Linked DNA regions of Homo sapiens: all the other regions are linked to region 1. Evidence: promoter capture Hi-C in 16 types of primary human blood cells and fetal thymus (Javierre and others, 2016). All regions are on one chromosome and are shown on one strand. Each heading gives the region's core, a stretch centred on a gene start or on the middle of the fragment in contact. The rest is flanking DNA. Distances are from core to core; before and after follow the strand shown. Region 1 holds the start of OTP (orthopedia homeobox). Region 2 holds the start of F2RL1 (F2R like trypsin receptor 1). Region 3 holds the start of ZBED3 (zinc finger BED-type containing 3). Region 4 holds the start of S100Z (S100 calcium binding protein Z).

Evidence for each region. Contacts are between HindIII fragments. The CHiCAGO score rates a contact against its expected background, and 5 or more counts as called.
Region 2: a contact is called between the fragment with the promoter of F2RL1 here and the fragment with the promoter of OTP in region 1, in 1 of 17 cell types (non-activated CD4 T cells). The highest score is 5.2, in non-activated CD4 T cells.
Region 3: the fragment with the promoter of ZBED3 here is called in contact with the fragment with the promoter of OTP in region 1 in 1 of 17 cell types (naive CD8 T cells); the score reaches 5.3 in naive CD8 T cells.
Region 4: the fragment with the promoter of S100Z here is called in contact with the fragment with the promoter of OTP in region 1 in 5 of 17 cell types (fetal thymus, activated CD4 T cells, erythroblasts and 2 more); the score reaches 7.9 in fetal thymus.

Annotation. Positions count from the first base shown.
Region 1 is chr5:77,636,500-77,640,225 of GRCh38, forward strand. OTP (orthopedia homeobox) reads right to left here and starts at 2,214. Exons shown (of 3, transcript NM_032109.3): 1 at 2,014-2,214; 2 at 322-731. The coding sequence starts at 2,050. RefSeq lists enhancers at 2,200-2,756, 2,757-3,311. The HindIII fragment of the contact is 2,017 bases long and covers 1,219-3,235 here.
Region 2 is chr5:76,816,947-76,820,840 of GRCh38, forward strand. F2RL1 (F2R like trypsin receptor 1) reads left to right here and starts at 2,084. Exons shown (of 2, transcript NM_005242.6): 1 at 2,084-2,318. The coding sequence starts at 2,237. RefSeq lists enhancers at 1,800-2,417, 2,418-3,035 and a silencer at 1,818-2,112. The HindIII fragment of the contact is 1,972 bases long and covers 1,555-3,526 here.
Region 3 is chr5:77,085,013-77,088,534 of GRCh38, forward strand. ZBED3 (zinc finger BED-type containing 3) reads right to left here and starts at 2,273. Exons shown (of 3, transcript NM_032367.4): 1 at 2,099-2,273. ZBED3-AS1 (ZBED3 antisense RNA 1) reads left to right here and starts at 1,703. Exons shown (of 3, transcript NR_182763.1): 1 at 1,703-2,607. It also overlaps a transcript of PDE8B not described here. RefSeq lists enhancers at 1,931-2,532, 2,533-3,135, 3,136-3,522 and a silencer at 1,945-2,114. The HindIII fragment of the contact is 2,300 bases long and covers 1,839-3,522 here.
Region 4 is chr5:76,848,343-76,852,193 of GRCh38, forward strand. S100Z (S100 calcium binding protein Z) reads left to right here and starts at 1,672. Exons shown (of 5, transcript NM_130772.4): 1 at 1,672-1,813. The HindIII fragment of the contact is 3,987 bases long and covers 1,092-3,851 here.

The sequences.
Region 1 (3,726 bases), core at 964-3,463:
CTGGGCCGCCCGGGGGGGCGCTGAGGTTGCCTTCTCAGGCGGAGGAGGCGAACCCTGTAGCCCGACAACGCCGGGCTTCGATTTTGAGGAGCTTCTTCCGGGATGTCGCTATACTGGCCGGAGACGGGCCTTGCGTGTCCATTGGGGGATGGCGATGGGGACCAGTTTCCGGGTAGAGAAGGAGATAACTCGATACAGGAACGCACAGGCAGCCTGAAAGCAGCCCAGGATCTCGACAGGGGAAGGGAAGACCCTGCTCCCTTTGCCCAAATCCTCCCGCCCTGTCCTTGCCTTCTGTCCCAGATCCCAAGCCCCTCGTACCTGCACTCGGGACTCGGTCAGCCCGATACGCAGTGCCAGCTCCTCACGCATAAAGATGTCGGGGTAGTGAGTCTTGGCGAAGCTCCTCTCCAACTCGTTGAGCTGTGCGGGGGTGAAGCGCGTCCGGTGGCGCTTCTGCTTCTGTTGGCCCTGCTGCTGGCCGGCTTGGCTGGGGTTCGGGCCGCCCTGGGGCCCGGGCTGCTTGTCCGGGTCTTTGGCGCTCACCGCCAGCGAGGCCGGAGTAGAGCCCACTGTGGTGATGTCCTCCCCGGGCAGCAGAGTGGCTCCCTCCACTGGGTCAGAGTTGGGCGCCAGGTCCCCCGGATGGCCCCCGGGGTCGGAGCCCCCCACGCCCAGCCTACACTTCACCGCCTCCCGGTGGCCCAGAAGCTCGGCGGCATCTTTCATACCTGAGGAGGCAAGGGGATCGCGGTCACTACTTTCTTGGCGATGCCAGGAGGGGCTGTCTTCCCCGCGCAGCCTTCCTTCAACCCGTCCTCGGCCCCCTCCGCACCCGCGCTTGTCCTAAGGAAGAAACTCCCAGGGTATTCAGCTGGGTTCCCCAGAATTTGGACAGCCGGGTTGGAATAATATCTCCCGGCCCCTTGCCCTCGCCGCAGCCGGCTCCCGTAGTAAACAGCACAAGCTTTCGTCTCTCCCACAATAAAACACTCCCAGTCCCGGCAATAAAACATGCCTCTGAATCCCTTCCATAAACCGTACCCCAGGCGCCCCAGGAAATCGAGAGCAAATCTTTGGACACAGGGGTGCGGGGGGCAGAAAGAAAATTAAACAATTCCTCGGTTGCTGCGGCACCTGCGCTTCGGCAGCCTGACGAACTGTACCTCCGGCCCTCAGCCGATTCCCTCTTACTTTCGGAAGATGAATAAGCCTCCAAGCTTTCACCCCCCGAAATCAACCCAAATCAGCTCCGCCTCCCCCTCAAATCAGAGAAAGTGTTTGGAAAATGGAGTCACATCCATCACCGAAGATTCCCAATCCGGAAACCCAGAGCTCAGCAACCCAGATAGCATTAAGGAAACTCGAGTGAACTCTATGGACAACCGTGAATCAAACTTTAGAGATTTCAACTTTTCTTTCCAGAGAAATAAAAGGCGCATTCCTCACAGCCATTGGCAACGCTGAGTCCCTTGCAGAAGAGGGGGGGATGACTGTGAGGTTGAATTTGGCTTCTCTCCTTCTCAACCAGCACACTTAGCAAATCCGCCTTGATGGCAGCAGCTTCTCCTTTATGCCAGATTTTTTACAAATTACACCACACTTAGAAAAGGAGGAGAGAAGAAGATGGTGGGGAGAGAGAAACGGGGGGAGGGAAGGAGAAAGAAATCCCAAATCAAAACAAACAGGAGAGGGAAAAAAGAGAGAGAAACACCTCCTAACAAATTATCACGGGGTATATCGCCTTTCGAAAAAAAAAAAAAGGCGGGGGAGGGGGGAAGAGAAAAATAAGAAAAACAAAAAGTAACAACATTCCCCAACTCCTTTCTTGGATCTACATATTCCATAGATTTTTTTTTAAAGGCGATGTTAAATCAAATTAAACTTTAATGCAGCACAATTACTTTTAAAGAAATTAGTCCATTTAGGTCGCATTAAGGTAAAATAAGGAACAAATTGACAATTTCCTGCCCCGGCTTCTCCTGGCTGCCCGGGCGAGAGGCGCGCACTCACCTAGCCTGGCGTCCAGGAGGTCGGCATGAGACAGCATCGCGCACCGCTCCAGGGCGAAAGCTGTTCCCCCCCAAATTTTAGCGGCTTTAAGTTATTTAAAATAGATATAAGCTATAAGCTATACGATATAGATATATATAGATCACCTAAATGAAAGAAAATTCGGTTTGTGGTTAAAAAGGGGGCTTCTTGCATTATAATGTCCTTTAGAGAGACGGGGAGGTGCTTAACAGTTGAATGAACCCGTGAGCAGCTCGGCGAGGGGACCAATCAGGAGGGCAGCCTGCAAATGTCAGCGCCCGGAGAGTCCCCCACTCCGCCCGCCCGCTCGCCTGCGCCCGCCTGAAGGAGGCGGCGGCGGCAGCCCTGGCAGCTCCAGCCCGGAGCAGGAGCTAAAGCAGCCTCAGCCGCCTCGGCCTCGCCCTGAGCTTCTGGGCCCGGCTCCCTCTAGTTCTTCCCTGCGATTTTCTCCAGGCTCCCCTTTCCTTCCCCTTGGCCGGCGCTGCGCGCTTCGAAGGCGTAGCTCTGTGCCTCTGAGCTAACATCTTCCTAGGGCAGGGGCAGAGCAGGGGTCAGAGCGGGCCATGACCCTGGCGTGACCTGAGGGTCGCCCCCACCTGCGCTCTCTGGGCCTGCCGCTCATATTGGCCCGCCAGCCCAGGGCGCGACGAGGGCACACCGCGGCCTTCAGACAACGCCTGGACTTCGCCGCGGCTCAGTAGGCCTGCGCCTAGGGTCCAGGCGCCCTGGCTGTGCCCTGGGGTCTATACGAGCCCCAACCCCACAGTGGGCCTAGAGCGCAAAGAGGAGTCGGCTTCCCTGGCACCGCCAGCGCCCGCTGTCTGCTTTGGGGACCCTCGCGGAGTGTGGGTTCGAGCGCTCTGCACTCTTCTCACCGGGCTTCTTCCCGGCTCCTGCTCTTCCGCTTGGCCCACGCCCGCATCCTCGCCCCTAACTCGCTCTTTTGGTCAAAGTTTCTAAGTTCAGCTCGGCTCCCAACTCCACTTAAGGCTGTAAATAAAGTTAAATGCTCTTTATTTTCCTCTTGAATATGTTAAACTACTTGAACAATTTAAAGTGCTTTGCACAAGTGAAGCGAACCATTTCTAATGTTCTGATTTTTCAGAGCCAGCCAACAACAAAGTTTAGATTAGTAATATATTTCTAACCAGAGTAATTTTCAAGATCATTAGGCATTTATGTAATTAGTGCCAAATCTATAAGCTTTTATTACGATTATTAGAGTAAAATCAGTATAAATTTGTACTAATTTACTACTGTTTAGACTTGGCTGTCAAGCCTAGAGGTTCTTATTGTAAATGATAACTGAGGAAATTAAGTGCAAAATTCTGTACCATTTCTGATCTGCTCCTAAACAATCCGTTTCAATTGTATTTGTAGCAGAACATAATGCCCTTTTAAAGTTATTTGACTTGTATTTTTATTTGCAACACAAGAAAAATGCCCTCTACCCAGTCACAATGAAAACTGATATTTACTACTCCCAACTTGATTAACATTGATTTTTAATTCGAGAGTGATGCAATTAAGATTATTCATTTAGTGCAAATAAACCTTCCACAAAAGGGTGGCCCAATGAAGTCTGTTTTAAATAATACTGAGCAAATGGCTTTTTTTGTTCGCCGTCCAATTGACTTAGACAAAACATTGAAAATGCTGGCTGAGAGCAGATGCGAGAGGAATTGTGTGTGT
Region 2 (3,894 bases), core at 834-3,333, 820 kb before region 1:
GAAACGGTACTAAGAAGTGCTTTATGGACATTTAGCAAAGTGAATCCTCACAACCACCCTACGAGAGAGGTACTAGTATCATTCCCAGATGATAGATGTAATATTAATAAGCTACAGATGAGGAAATGGATGCTTGAAAAGTTTGAAGGGACATCTTAGGAATCAGTTATCTCCCCTGGGGAGGGACCTTCAGGAATGGCCTGATCCCTATCAGGAGAGCTGTCCGCTGTTCAGGATGTCAAAGGTTCCTGTTCTGCTTCTAGAAGTCAGCTTTTCCTGGGAGGAAAAGTGGGCATGGGCTGAGGTGAGAGCTGGGGTGCAGGTGGAGTATGAAGACTCCTCAGAGAAAGGAAATAAACAAAAAATATTTATTGAGCTTCTACCATGTATCAAACCCAGTCACTAGTCACTATTTTATCCTCAGACAGACACCTATAAACCTTTAAACCACGTGTGTGTGTATATATATATATATTATAAGAAAGCTTAGAGAGGATAAGTAAACTTGGGATCACACAGATGTCAACAAGGGGAGAAGCCTGTCCGGGTGTGGTGGCTCATTCCTGTAATCCCAGCACTTTGGGAGGCTGAGTGGGGAGGATCACATGAAGCCAGGAGTTCCAGACCAGACTGGACAAGATAGGGAGACCCCACTTCTATTTTCTAATAGAAATTAAAATAAAAAATAAAGAAAATTTCTTTATACATTGAGCTGAAATTAAACCCCACTGTGGCTTCCACCAATTTTTGCTCTCTGGAGCAACTCAAAACACATCTAAATCCTCTTCTACAAGCGAATCCTTTAAATATTTGAAAATACCTATGTCTCTCTTCTGTGCTCTTCTGGTACCAATAGTTTAAATGGGTAACAGTAGACTTTGTTTTATTCAATCTTTTAAAAAGCAAATAAAAAGTAAGACATGCTGGGTGCGGTGGCTCACGCCTGTAATCGCAGCACTTTGGGAGGCGGAGGTGGGCTGATCACGAGGTCAGGAGTTCGAGACTAGCCAGACCAACATGGTGAAACCCCGCCTCTACTAAAAATACAAAAATTAGCCAGATGTGGTGCACGCCTGTAACTCCAGCTACTCGGGAGGCTGCGGCCAGAGAATTGCTTGAACCCAGGAGACAAAGTTTGCAGTGAGCCGAGATCACGCCACTGCACTCCAGCCTGGGAGACAGAGCGAGACTCCGTCTCAAAAACAAAAAGTAAGACATTACCAATATGATGCCAACCCTCATGCACTCATCCCCAACCCCACACTTCTCTTCTCCCACCCCTTCTATCTGCTTTTGTATTTATTTAGCCTATGGGATCCCAATGCAGAGGAGCCCTGGTGGACGCATTTATAGTGCAGCGATGAATAGAAGACAGTGATAGTCTTATACTGGAGTTGAAATGTGATAAACATTTATACACTGTGTTTATAAGTCGTGTAACTCTGGCCAATTTATCTGGTCTTTCTAAGCTCACTTTCCTCGTCTGTAAAATGGGAAGAATAATCATACTTATTGCGCTGGTTGTTATGGGGATTAAGCAAGATAATTCTCTAAAGCTTTGGCACTTGGCGCTGAAAGTAGCCATTCCATGTCTTCTTTCCCGCCCCGCCTCTTGTGCTCCCCACCGCTTTCGTGATGTCCGCAGTTGCCCACCTGCCTCTACAATAAAAAACGCATCCCTCCTCCTGCAGGGTCCACCGCACCGGGAAGCCCTGTCTGTATCAGTTACCAACCACAATTGCAGTGAGTACGAATCGTGGCTTTCCCACAGTCAGGAAAGGCAAGGGAGACCGACGACCCGCTTCTCTAGGAGTAAGTAAAGATTAAAGGTAGTTCGCGGTATAGCCTAGGCAGGGATTAACCCGTGGTCCCAGCGCTCCTGCTATTTGCATTCCAAAGCAGACACCTCATGCGCTCAACCCCGCCCGCAGGCGGCTCCCGCAGTCTAAGGGACCTGGCGCGAGTCCGGGAAGCGGAGGGCGCAGCTGCGCAGGGAAGGGGGCCGGGGGCGGGACCAGGGCGCGCGTTCCGGTCCCGGGGCGTGGCCTCCCGCAGGTGAGTACGCTGCTCCTTCGGTTTCCCTGAAACCTAACCCGCCCTGGGGAGGCGCGCAGCAGAGGCTCCGATTCGGGGCAGGTGAGAGGCTGACTTTCTCTCGGTGCGTCCAGTGGAGCTCTGAGTTTCGAATCGGCGGCGGCGGATTCCCCGCGCGCCCGGCGTCGGGGCTTCCAGGAGGATGCGGAGCCCCAGCGCGGCGTGGCTGCTGGGGGCCGCCATCCTGCTAGCAGCCTCTCTCTCCTGCAGTGGCACCATCCAAGGTGAGAAACCTGGCCAAGGAGGGCTCTTATCTCTGAGGAGCTGGGGTCCTGGGCACGCTGGGCAGACGGTGGGATCCGGGCAGGTGTGCGAAGGCTGTTCTGCTGCCGGCACCCATCTCTACGAATCCCTTAGCCTCCCCTTGGTGGCTTTGATGTGAGGTCTCTGCGCCAAGGAGGCACCCAGGTGGGACATGCGGGAGCAGCTGAAGTCAGCGGAGCCGGGCAGAGGCAGAGATTTCCCCAAAGACCCCACTTCCCGTAGAGGCTGTCATGCTGGGCACCTCCAGGCCCCAGCGTGGGTTCGGGGAAAGGGAGGGAAGGAAGGAGTAGCTGTGTCTAAAGGGTACGCAGAGGACCTAGTCCCCTCCCCGGGCTTGGTTGCTTTGTAAACACTAAGTCATTAAGAGCTTTTTGCCAACTCCGGAGACTTCCTCCGCTGGCCCCGCGGGGCCGGTGGGGTTAGCGAGCTGATTGCGCAGGGCAGGGCGGAGTGGGTGGGAACCCGCGGCCCGGGAGCCTTCTAGGTTGTTTTTTGCGTCCCTCTCCAACTGCTGGAAGCCTTTCTTCGGGTTCTGGCCCCTGCGTTCGAGACCCACCCGGGTCCCGCTGCTCCTGGCACCCACAGTGGAAGGCCCGGGGTATGAAAGTCAGGGCCGGTCCCTGATGGGTTCTGGTGGTAATGAGCGCTCAGGCCCGTTGGGCGCCACGAGGATTTACGAGCGGAACTTTTTGGACCCTGCCTTATATTTGACCAGTTGACCCTCTGGGCCTGGGGTTCCGGGACTTTCCTAGTGTGCCACCCGGAGCGGCCACTGGCTGCCACCCAGGTCTGCAGGCCAGAGGCTGGCTGGCCTGGGAACAGAGCAGCACTTGCGCCCGGCCGTCGCGTTCCTTGGATGTGCTGCTCCGGGTGTGCTCGAACTTGTATTGCTGGGAGTGTGTTCTTCCGGGCCCAGCAGGCCTCGCTGTGGCCGTGGGGGATGTTTGACCTGCGATCGCGCCACTGTGATCCTAACCGAGGCCCCTCTGTTTGGGGCAGCCTGGGTAGCAAAGGGAGCTTTTAATTTCCCTCAGAAATGCGCATTTCTCACTTTTATCCTCCTCTTCATAAAGACGAAGTAAAAGAGCAAGTCACAGTGGGTTGGAATTAGATGGAAGAATGTGATTCTTTTCCCTCTGCAGTTAGGGAAAAGGGTGTTAATGGTGTAAGCTTGAAAACTGTGCACCGCTGGTATATTTTTTTTTCTTAATCAGCATCAGAATAAAGGCATTTAGTTCCAGGAAGTATTGAAAACTGTAATGGACACCTCTCCTCTATGTCCTTTAAAGTTGGAAACTTAAAATTCAGGAGCAAAGGTTAGTATGTGCAAACTTTAAAAAAATACATGTTGGTATAGCTGATTCAACATCTTTATGATTCAGAGATCCCTGTAGGAAGCATGCCCCGATTATTTGTCTTGTTCTTGTTTACTACTCTTGGGGGATTGGGAGATCCCTGGATTATAAGGCGAACTTGATTTAACAATAAGGAAAAATCAGGTTACTTGTTAACTATAGCCACTTAATATTGCACCTT
Region 3 (3,522 bases), core at 1,023-3,522, 550 kb before region 1:
GTTGCTGGTACCATGCCTCTGCACTTGCTATAGCTGAGTTTCATTTGAGTATCCATTATTTGGAAGGAGTTCTTAAATCTAAGCCTGTGGAAGACAATAAATTCACATTAATTATCTCTCCATTTGACTCAATTTCTGAAGAAGTTCTATCCTTCTGATGAACTATCAGATTAAATCCCAGATTCCTCAGTATGATGTCCCTGAATACCAATATAAAGAATAAAGGAAGAGATCAAAACCTGGATGAATAATCTGTATAAACATGGGCATATACACAAGGTATGACTATAATATTGAGACTCATCCTATAAAGCACCTACAAAAGTTGATTGTATTATTTTATACTTATGCTTGTGCACATAAAAAATATTTGGCAGGCTAAAGGCCAAAGAACCAGGCACTGTTCTCAAAAGGACATAGCAGATTAACTACACCTCTATTTGTCCTTCTATACTCAAGGCTACTTACTGTAGTTGGGTTGACCAGGCAGAGTTTAAATCAATATATGTTGGTTGAGCCTGGATCTTAGATGAGAAATTCACACTAACGTGAAATTCACACAGACATATGTGGAAACACTAAAAACATTTTCTTTTACTTCATCCACCAGTGACTTTAATGAAAGCAGAGCATAATAATTAATACAAGTAATTAGAGTTGACAACTGAAGTGTCAAGAAAACCACAGTTCATCTGTTATCCGTCCATCTCTGTTGAAATATTAGTTTACTGCCATATATTAATCTATTTATAAAGAGATCCAGACAATTAGAAAAATTAGTCTGGAATCACCAGGCTGAAGGCTTAGCTGAAGTTAAAAGACAAGTAAAAATGCCTCCAAACTGTAAAACCTGAGTTGGGGAATAAATGGTAAAATGTGTAAAAATTTAGAAAAAGGTTATATGTGGACTGTAAAAAATACACTGGACTCACAGGTAATTAAGGGGTGAATCAGAGTTGTTTCCTAAATGGCATAAGCCAAACTCTTAGATATTTCTACCATTAGCTAAAAGGCAGAGAAGCACTCTCTCTCTCTATTAATGCACTTTTAAAAATGAAAATTGTGAAGTGTTCTGCCCTTAAAGTGGACCTTTATTTCAGGTCTGCATTACTTTGCTTAATAGATATGGTCCTAAAGATTAAGGTGGTGATCCATTTTATCTTGTAAAAATGCATAATTTAATCTGAGTTATAGGAATTTAAAGCTGCCCTACTTTGAAGGCCTTTGTGACTCAAAGATTTTTTTAATTTAATTTTTAAATTGAGAATTACCTGGCTTGGGCTTTTGGTCTTTTTATAATACGTATTGCTGTCTACTTTTTTTTTTATTCTTGGCTGCCTCAAGCTATTCTTGCCTCCAAAAGGTGTCAGCATATGAATAAAAACAGCAGAAAATAATTACCCTAATTAGGTCAATGTATTAAGCTGTTTCTACAACTGTTTCTCTTAAACACCTTATCTTTGTAGTCTTGGCTCATTAGAAATTCGACTAGTGGTAAGTATTTATTTTTTTCCTTCAAGGGGGTTTTTGCTTTGCTAAGCCTCGGGCATTTGGTTCGTGCAAGAAATCACAGAAACTGCTCCAGCGGACTCCGAAAGGAGCGGAAAATTCTTTTGTTTGGGGGCCATGAGGGGTGGGGGAGGGGTGGGGATTCTGGTGTAAGCTTTTGGCTTGCATTCGCTTTCTCCCTCCGAAAGTGGGCGACATCAAGCAAGTCCCAGTTACAGAAAGAACCCACTGCAGGGCGTCCAGTCACTTGCCCAGTGAAAAGACTGTAATCAGACAACTTTAATAAAGGGAGAGCAGGAGAGTGGTGACGAATTTCCACATTCCGAACAAGCTTGTCGAAAGAGGAGTGCAGGGAAGGAGCAAGAATGAGGCACTGGAAGACGGTGAGCGGGGCCTTGCCACAGAATCCCGGGCCCACCTGCTTTCTCACAGTCGCGACAGCCGGCCCGGAGAAGGGCAGCCCAGCGAAGGGCACGCCCCGCGCGGGTGCCAGGGAGGCCGGCAGGGGCGTCCGCGGTCGCTGCTCACCTGCGCTCCCCGCTGCCCGGCCCAGCCCGCCTCGCCACCGAGTCTGGAAGCCCACACTCACCCCTTTACCCGGGAAACGCGGCCGGAGCCGGCGGCGGGTCGGGAGTCCGAGATGGTAGATCCCCCTCCAGGCGCCTCGCTGACATTTTGTCCCGGACGGAAAACCTCCGCGCGTGCCCCTTAAAGACACAGCGCTGCATTCACACGTCTGCGGGGAAAGGGGGGCCGTCACGTGTGGCCTTCGCCCGAAAGCGGTAGGGGAGTCGCTCTGAAACCGCCAAGGATCGCGAGCGACAGATTTGTGTTGGCCAGGGTTTTAAGATGACGCAATAGCTGAGTGTGGTTGAAATGTAACTATTGTTTTACAACTTTGCATTAACCTTCCAAGACCTGAATTCCCGGGCCTGAGTCTCAGAGCGCGGTTTGCATCTTTGCAGGCTGTAGGCGCATGATGTCACAAGTTATTGGAAGAAATCCCTCCAACCTAGGTTGGGACAGATGAAGGCGGCGCTTATTGGTGTTCACCAAAACACCAGCATGGTGTACCAGCTTTGGCTAGATGATGCTCAGGTAACGAACAACCCCTGCAACTCAGTGGCTTAAAGGTCCATTTCTCAAGCGAATTACTGTGGCTGCAGGGAGCTTTGGCAGTACTCCACCAGTTTTCTTCACTCCAGGCTGAAAGGTCAACTTTTCTGGGCCATGCTCCCTGCTGGGCTGGTAAACCAACTTTGAGGGAGAAGGGGGAAGTCCAGATATGTAGTGTTTGCTATTTCTATGATGTAAATGCTCCCACAATGGCCGATTTCAAGCTACAAACAGTCCAACAAGTGGCTTGCCAAGTTCCTGGAAATTTAACAATTAGCTCCTGTACATGACTGGCACAAGCTGCTTTCCAAACTCACATTCCGCATGCCTCAGTTCTGCTCACTTTCTATTGGTCAAAACTTGCTGTCAGTGGGTGGGGAAGTGTACCCCTCTCTTAAGGAAGCCTTGCAAGTCTTGTGACAATGAAACAGGAGAGTTCCCTGATTTCCTCCCGGCCCCCGCCCTCCCACAGCCCTTTGCAGGACGTGCAACAGGGTTGTGGCTCGTGTGTTCGGTCTCTGCCTGCTGAAACCCCTTATGGGAGGTGGAGCATGCAGACGGACGGGTGCAGGAGCCAGGGTGCAAAAGCTGGGGCGCTGGGCTTCCAGCCCCACGGCAGTGTCCAGGGGCAGGATCCCGTGATTCCCGGAGCCCAAATGGGCGTGTGTTACAGTGTGCTCTTTTAGCCTTACCATCAGCTGACGGCTTAAGTGTTAACCAGCTCAATAGACCCTCTGCCTTTTTGCAAGCGCAGAGGGTCAGTGTGACAGTTTCTGTATCTCAGCTCTTGTCTCACCTCCCAGAAGAATCAGGTCACACATGGACTTGAAGGATGGTGAGTGCCGGGGTGGGGGCGGGGGTAGAGGAGTTGGGGGAAGGTTGGGGGTGTTTATTAGG
Region 4 (3,851 bases), core at 422-2,921, 790 kb before region 1:
TCTCCTGCCTCAGCCTCCCGAGTAGCTGGGATTACAGGCGCACACCACCATACCTGGCCAAGAGTAGTTATTTTGGAAAGAGAGACGTTTCAATCTTCAGAACATATCTTTGGCCGGGTGCGGTGGCTGGTGCCTGTAATCCCAGCACTCTGGGAAGCCAGGCTGGGAGGATCACTTGAGCCCAGGAGTTCAAGACTAGACTGGGCAAGCAACATGGTGAAACCCCATCTCTACAAAAAAATACAAGTATTAGCCAGGTTGTGGTGGCATACCCTGCAGTCCTAGCTATTTGGGAGGCTGAAGTGGGAGGATCACTTGAGCCTGGGAGGTTGAGGTTGCAGAGAGCTGTGATTGTGTCTCTGTACTCTACCCTAGGCAATGGAGCAAGACTCTGTCTCCAAAAAAAAAAAAAAAAAATTTATCTTTGAATTCTTTCTTTCAATATATTGTTATCTGTATTTCTGTACTGAGTGCTGTGCTTCTTGACCTGTCTCTGCCCTTTTCTGTGTATTTATTTATTTAATTGACAAGTAAAAATTGTATATATTATGGTATACAAATACAGCTTGATGTTTTAATTTATGTATACATTGTGGAATTATTAAGTCAAGCTATTTGACTTAATTGCCCCATATACTTGTCATTTTTTGGGGGTGATAAAGACACTTAACATCTACTGTCTTAGCAATTTTCGATACACGATATATTGTTATTAACTATAGATAGCATGCTGTACAATGGGAGCTCTTAAACTTATTCCTCCTGGGCCAGGCGCAGTGTCTCACGCCTATAATCCCAGCACATTGGGAGGCCAAGGTGGGCGGATCACTTGAGGTCAGGAATTCAAGACCAGCCTCACCAACATGGTGAAACCCCATCTCTACTGAAAATACAAAAATTAGCCAGGCTTAGTGGTGGGCGCTTGTAATCTCAGCTACTTGGGAGGCTGAGGCAGAAGCTTGAACCAGGGAGGTGGAGGTTGCAGTGAGCTGAGATGATGCCACTGCACTCCAGCCTGGGTGACAGAGCAAGACTCTGTCTCAAAAAAAAAAAAGAAAAAAAGAAATGCTGTGAGGAATTATTAGCCATGAAGCTTCAGCAGGCAGGTTAGGTAGCTTTTCCAGTCACATACTGGTGAAGTAAGGATTTGAACCCCAAGACTCTGGTGCCAGAGTAATTGCTCTTCACCATGAGGAGGCACCAGTGGGGGAGTGTTGGATCACAAGCAGTTTCTTTTTCTTTTTTTTTTGTTTTTTTGAGACGGAATCTGGCTCTGTCACCTAGTCTGGAGGGCAGCGGCGAGCTCAGCTCACTACAACCTCTGCCTCTCAGGTTCAAGCGTTCTCCTGCTTCAGCCTCACGAGTAGCTGGAATTACAGGCGCCCGCCACCATGCCTGGCTAATTTTTATATTTTTAGTAGAGATGGGGTTTCGCCACGTTGACCAGGCTGGTCTCAAACTCCTGACCGCAAGTGATCCACCCACCTCAGCCTCTCAAAGTGCTGGGATTAGAGGCATGAGCCACTGCACCCAGCGCAATTTCGTTAGAGACTTGGTGCCTTCCCATTTCTTTTACTCAGCAATATACCAGCTTTAGGTCCTAAATTAAACCTCTTCCTGCTTTCCCACCTGATGAAGAAACGTGCCTGCAGTGTGGTGAGTCTGGACCACGCAGACTCAGAACAGCACTACTCACAGCAGGGCCTCTTGCTCGCTCTAGCTGCTGGGAGGAAAACGGCTTGCTAATCTCCACGCCCAGAAATTCAGACAAGAGCATTCTCCTTATCTCATCTGCACAGGAAGCAGGTCTAAGGTAAAAGATTATTTTTGTGGAAGATTCTTGCTTTTCAGTCTAGTGGTTGAAGTGTGAGCCTGGCAGGCGTTGGATTAGAGAGGGCAACAAGAGTGGAGGTTGTGAGGTGGGGGGTTGCCTTGGGGCTTCCACTCTAAAATGTGGCCTTACCTTGGCCACAAAGGGGTCGGGGGGGTGGGGGAGAGAGAGAGAGAGAGAGAGAGGGAGAGAGCAGCCTGATCATAGCTCGGAGCGTAGAGGTTCTGGTAAGTTCCTTGCCCTAAAGAACACTTAGTTCATTCTGGCTCCTTTCCTGGTGACCATCCTGGCTTCCTGCTTGGCCTTCACCTCACCTTGAGAAATTCAAGTTTCATGTTCTTGTCCAGGCCAAAGACCCAGAAGAACCTTCAAGGTGAGGCTTGGCCCCTTAGATCCACGCCGTGATTTCGCTTCTTTTTCCTGAAGCCTGCACAGATGCCAGTGTAAGCCCACTCCCAGGAAGTCACAGCAGTGGTCTATGCTCCTCCTCTTCACACTGGCCAGTGCTGGGCATGCCTGGACAATCAGCCCTGGAATGGCTGCTCTCAGCCTACAGAAGAAGAGAGGGAAGAGGGATGGAGGGGCTGGGGAGAAGTTGGTGAGAGGACACAAAATTTGGGTTAGACAGAGAAATAAAGTTTTTTTTGTTTTTTGTTTTTTTCTGAGATGGAGTTTCACTCTGTCACCCAGGCTGGAGTGCAGTGGTGTGATCTCAGCTCACTGCAACCTCCACCTCCCACTTGGCTTCCCAAAGTGCTGCGATTACAGGCATGAGCCACCGCTCCCCAGCCTCCTCATGGGATTTTTGAGGATGACATAAAGGAATACATTTAAACTGCCTAGAAGGGTGCTTGGCCCAGAGTATGTGCTAATTAACGTTGGCTACTATTATTTTCCTTCAACCCAGTGCCGGTGCAGGTCTAGAGGAAAGCATGAGGTGATACAGGGGCACCCAGAGGCGGAGTGCTCCCAGGAGCTGAGGGGCATCGGAGGCTTCCCTGGAGGACTGGCACCTGAGCAGAGGAATGGGCAGCACAGTGGCAGTGCCACGTGTGCGGCACAGATGGTGCAGAGGGGATGGGTGGGCACACTGCGGGGAGTTTAGATTTAGCCAGGGGATGGCAGGGCCTGTCCAGGAGGTTAAGTGAGGAGCTCAGGTGTGCCTCCCAGCAGGCAGGGGAGGCTAATTTTGAAGAAGAGCAAAGTAGGTGCAGGAGGTGAGTTGGGATCTCATGCAGTAATTCAGGCCAGAAGTGACAAGGGCCTGAACTATGGCGCTAGGGTTGAGGAGGAAGGAACAGAGAGTGAGGAGATACAACCTGGCAACTGATTGCATGAGAGAGAGAGAGGGGCCAGGAATAGCATCATACTCAGGTTTCTGGCCATGCAGTTGGGTGAATGAGGGTATTGCTGTTGACTGGAGCAGCAAAAAAAGGGGATCCCCTCTGGGGTAGAGGAAGAAGGGAGCAGGGGATTGGAAAATGCCAAAATCAGTTTGCTGTGGTTTGGAATCTGAGACTCTGATGTGTTACCTAAGTGGAGATGTCCTGTGGTCAGTTTATTTATACTCTCCTGGGTCCTAGGTAGGATTTAAGGTGACATATGAAGATAACACAAAGTAGAGTAAGATATTATAAATTAAGTAGGAGAGAAAGCAGACAGAAAAGAACGAGATGTAAAGTAGAGGAAGGAATGAGGTTAAATATAAAGTACACAGCAGAAAGCAGAAGTCACAAGCTGGCCAGCATTCGCTGAATTTCCTGTTTGAGTTGTCCTGCAGTCTTATGTTTGTCTGTTGGGTTTTGGTGGGTTTTGTTTGTTTGTCTTGAGTTGCAGTCTTAAAATCCAGGAATTCTTAAAAATTAAAATTTCTCACTTTTTCTTTTAAAAAAAAAAAAAGTGAAGTTCTGGGAGCTCTGAGCCATATCCCATCTGGCAACGATGATCTGGGTCTGAGAAGCAGTCTCGCCTTCTTGGGAGAGCACGGGCTCTCCAATTTCCCACTGGCCTCCACTCCACT